Linked DNA regions of Homo sapiens: region 1 is linked to region 2. Evidence: promoter capture Hi-C in human tissues and cell types (Jung and others, 2019). All regions are on one chromosome and are shown on one strand. The core of a region is centred on a gene start or on the middle of the fragment in contact, and the rest is flanking DNA. Distances in the headings are between cores, read along the strand shown.

Region 1 (3,033 bases), core at 1-2,500, 130 kb after region 2:
CGCTGCTTCTGGGCTGGCCTCTTCACTCCACTGAATCTTTGGGCTCTCATCTGTAAAATGGGGTAAGACTTTCTATCTGACTCACCAGGAAGTTTGCTTTTCCTCTCTTTCTGGGATTTACATGATTTCTTCCTCTCTCCATGAGATGTGCATTGAGTGCTTCCTGCGCACCAGCCTCTGGCATAGGTGGGGATGGAGAACACAGGGAGGAACAGTGCGGGGTGGAGATGGGGGAAGGCTGTTTGGGACTTGTCTAAGGAGTTGGGGGACATCGAGTAGAAATGTCTGAAGGCTGATGGGTGGGGGTCAGAGAGGGTCTGGCTGGAGACGAGGTTTGGACTTACTGGCATCGGTGGCAGCTGAAGTGGTCAGGTGGGTGGAGTTGCCCAGGGAACTCCTTTTCATGGGCTCTGGGAAGGGGCCAAGGTCAGACTCAGCTCTGGAGTCTCCTGAGAGCTGGGCACAGAGCAGGGATGGGGAGTCAGGTGGCCAGGGCCTCCAGCGGGACTGAAATGGGGTCAGTGGGTTTGGTGCTTCTTGTGAGGGTTGAGACCTTTGCCTTTGCAGTGTGGTGTCGGGGTGTGCGGGGAAGGGTGGATCACAGAGGATGAGGAGGGAGTAAAGGTGAAGGTGCTCAGATATCAAGGAATTTGGTCAGTCAGGTTGTCATTCTTTTGCTTGTGTTTGTCATTATTCAAATTATTCCCCTGCTGACTGAAGGGCTACTGTGGGGTGCATGTTTAGTCGGTTATATGCTGTGTGCATGTTGTATATGTGGGGGTTTGTAGACAAGATGTGTGTGTGGAGTGTGATGCAGGTGTGTTACTGTTTAGTATTTGTGTATGTCTTTCTGTGCATGGTGTGTAGAGTGCGTGCACACGACCACATTCAGATCCTTGATCCATACAGCAGGCTGGTGCTGAGTCGTCTGCCTAGGCTGGAAACTGGGAAGGATTCATCAAGCTTGTGAATTTATCTTCTCTACTTAGGGTTACACCCAACAGTGTGCTGGTAACAACTGGCCCTCCAGAAAAAAAGAAGGGTGGGGGATTTTAGCATCTGCCAATTTCTGTGATGTAAATACTCTGACTTCAGATTTCACTCTACCAGTGTGAAGTCACTGAATGTGCAGTTGGGAAGAGATGAACAGTAGACACCATTGTATAGCATTTCCACCATACAGGTATAGTAGGCATAAATACCCTTGAGGGTATGATAGTAACAACAGTAAAATAATTAGTATGTAATCAGTTTTGAAAATGCATTCCTGGGCCAGGCATGGTTTCTTATGCCTGTAATTCCAGCACTCTGGGAGGCAGAAGCTGGAGGATCACTTGAGGTCAGGAGTTCAAGACCAGCCTGGCCAACATGGTGAAACTCCGTCTCTACCAAAAAAAAAAAAAATACAAAAATTAGCTGGGTGGGCGTGGTGGCACATTACCTGTAATCCCAGCTACTTGGGAGGCTGAGTCACGAGAATTGCATGAACCCAGGAGGTGGAGGTTGCAGTGAGCCGAGATCATGTCACTGCATTCCACATTCTAGCCTGGGCAACAGAGCAAGACTCTTGTCTCAAAAAAAAAAAAAAAAAAAAAAGAAAGAAAGAAAAGAAAAGAAAAGAAAATGCATTCCCTTTGCTTTTAATAGAGTTTATTTAATTGTAAGTTCACATTAGGATTTCTATTTTTCTTTTTTTTAAACTTTTTTTTTTCCTCTCTCTTTTTAAAGACAGGTTGTTGCCCAGCCTGGTCTCAAACTCCTGGGTTCAAGCGATCCTCCCACTTCAGCCTCCCAGAGTGCTGGGATTGCAGGCATGAGCCACTGCTCCAAGCAGGGTTTCTCAGCATCAGCACCATAACATTTTGGTCTGGAGATCCTTTGCGGGGGGTTTGGGGGGACTGACATGTGCATTATGCAGGCAGCATCCTTGGCCTCTACCTACTAGATGTTAGTAGCACCTCTTCCCCAAATCATGACAGCCCACAATGTCTCCAGACATTGCCAGGTGTCCCCTGGGGTGCAAATTCGCCCCCGGCTGAGAACCAACGGTACTGGCTGTGTTTAACAACTACCTCACAAAATTCTTAAAAATGTGACACTTGGCTCTTATGAGCCTGTACAAGCCAGCTCAGCACACCGTGGGCACCCCATCCAGATAAATATAAGGCAGTTTTTTTCCCCCACAACTATTTCCCTGGAAAAAGCTGGCACCTTAGGCCTTAGATTTCAGTCTGTATGGAGTCCCTGACCACAGAGAACCCTCTCGGCTTACTGACTGATCCACAGAGCAGTGGACACAGAGTCAGAGATATGCTGCCATAGTGGATCTGTTGTGACATTTTATGAAATGTGAGAATAGGAAGAAATTAATGATGTTTTTGAATTAATATCTTATTTTAACATATGTTATTCTATATCCTTAAAAGTTTGCATGTTGAAATTGGCAAAACAAACAAACCAAACAAAAACCCCCTTTAAATAAAATCTTTCCGCTGGGAAAATAATGGCCTGTCTTGTGTCAGGAGTGCCCTATAGCTAATGGGTTCCCGCCAAGACTGCGCATCCATGGTGCTCATCCAGATGGCAAGGCTGCCGCTTCTTGGCCCAGGTCCTATTTTTTCCCAGCCTCAAGCTCAGGGCTTGGCTCTTGTTTATTCATTCAAAATCTTTATTAAGCACCTACTATGTACCAAGGAACATAAGTGACTGAAGTCGCAGTTTCTGTTCCCTGGGGTTTGCCATCATTTCAGTTCCGTGGCATCCACTCAGGAGCAGCCATGTGCAGGCCCTGTTTGGATGCTCAGGGGCCAGCAGGAGAGGGAGGGAAAGATGCACATGTGTGCTGGGTGCCTGGTGGTGCCTGGAACGGAACTGGGCACATCACACATGCACCTCCTCCCACCCTCCCACTGTGCTTTTGAGGGAGGGCTTGCTTGTTCACTGAGTGTCTGCCTTCCGCTGCCCTGTAGGTGCTCTGGGGAAACAACACCGACACCGGGGCCTGTACCTTCTGCAGGTAAAAACAGCCCCAGG
Region 2 (3,172 bases), core at 288-2,787:
GAAGTGTTCTGGATATGGCCAGGGTGGGTGTGTGGCTAAGTGGGCCTGAACAGAGGGAACCTAGGGCCCTTGGCCAATGTGATTAAAGCTGCCATCTTGATGTGTGTTGTCTCTGAATTGCCAGCAGGAGGGTGGGGACAAGTGCGCTGGGTCTAGGTTTCAGTTCTGACCCTATAATCTGAGGAGGAACCATTCTCAGGAATGAATGGGAAAGTGGCAGAATGGTGCCTCCCCTTCCCTGGGTCCGCCATGGTGCCAGTGGCTGGGAGCCGGTATCCTCATATGGTGGATGGGGAGACAGTCTTGGAGAGGTAAAGTGACCTCCAAAAGCCACACAGCTTAGAACAGGCCAAGCCAGAATCCCATCCAGACTCTGGCCCCAGCGCATATGTGTGCCTCCCATAAGCTAGGAATGACACGCAGAGGGGGAGGGCTCCTGGGTCCAATGTAGGGCTGGGAGTGGGACTGGCAGGTGCCCTCACAGCCACATGAAGGCATTCTGAACCTCCCGGCTATGTTGGGACAAGCCCTCAGCACAGGGAGGCCTCTTCCCCATGCCAGGAGTTTGGCTTTGACTTCTCCGAGCTTTGGACCTGCCTGAGGAGGGCCCATGCCCATGCCCAGGACTGGGGGCACCTGAGCTGAAAGCCAAAGTACAGCCCTGGGACCACAGGTGTCCTTTCCTTCCAGTCCTTGGGACCTCTGCTGTCTGTGGGCAGGAGTCAGTGGTGGTGTCAGAGCAGGCCTGTAACTCCCCTCTTTGTCCTGAGAGTCTGCCTGGTCATGGGTGTGACCTGAGGGAAAAGGGGGAAGCTGAGCCCCAGCTCCAGCCTGCATCAAATTAACTCCATGCTTCCTGGGAGCCAAGGGACGTGTCTCTTCCAAACAGGGATCTTCTGGATAGAATTCTTGGGGTCTAGGAGATTCTGGCACCTTATAGGTAAAAAAGAAAAGAGCCCTCTGCAAATGTTGGAAGCTCCACTGGGCCCCCACAGTAACCTCGAGGACCGGCCCTCCTGCCCCTGCTACTGAATGTCTGGCAAGTGCTCTGCTTCCTGGGGCAGAGGTCAGCTCCCGCCTCTCCCTGAGCTCAAGGGAATGAGACTCAGAGCCACTGTGCCCCCCGCCCCACATGCTTAGTCACATTGGCATCTACATGGTCACACAGCCACATGTCCACACGCAGCCCAATGCTACACAGTCACTTCATTCCATGTACTTCCACAATCACGCATAGTCACCCTGAAACCTACATGCCTACAACTGCATGATGACACCCCTCCCACACCCCAACTCCAGCACCACACACCTTCGAACCCATCGTCATTCCGGGACAAGGCCAGCACCAGGTCACCCCCAAACCCAGGCATACCAAATCCTGGAGTTCCACACACAGTCAATCCCACTCTTATGCCCCCCCTTTCTTTCCCTCCCTCCCAGGGCTAGTCCAAGAGTGGAACAAAAGCCCAGCATCCCCCTCCCTGCTCGCTTCTCCCTTCCCCTCCCTTCCCCTCCCTCCTGGCGTCCAGCCCCTTTGTCCTCCCGCAGCTGAGCCCGAGCGAACAGCAAACGGGAGTCTGGGCAGAGCAGCATGAACACTGGAGCTTGGGCTGCCAGGGGTGCGGGCGGCAGGCACAAACGGGAGTGATACCTGTGAGAGCAGCAGCTGCGGAGCACTTGGGAGAGGGTATGGCCAGGTAAGTGCCAGGTGCATGGGGCAAGGCTTAGGCTGCAGGGCTGACCCGGCTGCGTGGTGTCCGCAAGTCTGAGATGGGGAGGATGCGGAGGAGGTGCTTGGGTAATGGCTTCAAGTGGATGTGGGTGTGTAAAAGAGTGATGGTGGCATGTTCGAGTCAGCTTCTATAGGCTGGGCCCTTCAATCTGCATCATGACCCCTGGCTTGAAGTGCCTAGACTCAGCCGAGAAGGGAGGATACCCATTGAGCCCTACCTGGGAATTTTTACCTTCTGTGTTCCAACTGGGTGTCGTTTGACCCCCAGACTGGGGATCCCCAGAGTGAATGCTGGATCTGATGTCACTGTGTGTCCAGAGTGCCCAGCGCAGTAGACAGTAAAATGAAAAAGTACTGACACACTTCCTAGGAGGGGACTCTTTCTCCCCCAGGGAGCTGCTTGTGCTGTGGGGCACCTTTGCAAGAAGTCCATCCTTATGCTGATGAGACCTGCCCTCTTGAGTCTCAACTCAGAGCATGGTTGTGCTTTCTGAGCCAGTGGAGGACAGACTGGTTGCAGCGTGCTGTGATGACCGGTCTCACTTCCTTCCACCGGTCCTGGCTGCTCCTTGGGACACACCCCCACCCTGGCAAGTGTGGCATGCAAACCCTGGAGCCAGGTGGATTCAGGATCCAGTCGCTCTACTTGGGCAAAAGTAGTTAACTTTCTTGCCCACCAGGGAGCTCATCTCTCATGATGCTGACCAGGGGATCCGCTGCCCTGGATGACCAGGGCATGAAAGCCAGGCTGACACTAGGCGGGATCTGACCTCCAGAGGCAGCAGAGCAGCTGGGAGCAGGAGGATGGAAGGAGAGGCAGGGCGCAGAGGGTGGACCTGAGCCCCCTAGAGTAAGCTGATGGAAAGGAGGGAGCTCCCTGTCCCTGGAGGTGTGCAAGCAGAGGTTTTGTGTTCATAATGGCCAAATCATAACCAGCATGGCCCAGCCCCTCAGTCTGCAGAGCGCCTTCACAAACACCCCTCTGCTGAGCCTCGCCGCAAACTTCTGAAGGGCGGGTGTCCTGTGTGTGCTTGTTTCCCTTATGACAAACTAAAGGGGCAGGTGTGGGCTAAAGAAACTTCTCAGCTTGTGAGGATGAAATTAAATTATGTCTATAAAAGCAACTGGCACACACAGTGTCCTCCCTTCCTCTTGAGTAAAAGCAATATAGGGAAACACCCATGTAGCTCGTACTGTGTACTAGCACTTTTCATACAGCCCATGTAATAGTCATGAAGCCACAGCCCTGTGAGGTAGGGATGATGATCCCATTTCAGATGAGATAACTGAGGCCAGGGCGGGCAGGTGAGAGGAGTGACTTGCCCCGGCCACACCGTAAGCCTGTGGCAGGCACTGGGTTAGAATCCCCATTTGTCCCTAGAGTTCTTTCCACTTTCTGACGGTGCTACCTGGAGAACACCAAGAGAACTCACTAGAGAG

What was found. Contacts are between HindIII fragments. The study calls those that stand out against the background at their distance.
Region 1: a contact is called between a fragment that was not itself captured here and the fragment with the promoter of KLHL35 in region 2, in 2 of the 25 tissues and cell types used here (H1 embryonic stem cells and pancreas).

What each region holds. Positions count from the first base shown.
Region 1 is chr11:75,303,582-75,306,614 of GRCh38, reverse strand. The region is part of intron 1 of ARRB1 (arrestin beta 1); the gene reads left to right. Among named protein-coding and RNA genes, the nearest start is that of MIR326, 30 kb to the left of the region's middle. RefSeq lists an enhancer at 2,316-3,033. The HindIII fragment of the contact is 8,452 bases long and covers 1-3,033 here.
Region 2 is chr11:75,431,568-75,434,739 of GRCh38, reverse strand. It overlaps KLHL35 (kelch like family member 35), which reads left to right and starts at 1,537. Exons shown (of 7, transcript NM_001039548.3): 1 at 1,537-1,697. It overlaps GDPD5 (glycerophosphodiester phosphodiesterase domain containing 5), which reads left to right. Exons shown (of 17, transcript NM_030792.8): 17 at 1-100. RefSeq lists an enhancer at 2,013-2,899. The HindIII fragment of the contact is 12,939 bases long and covers 1-3,172 here.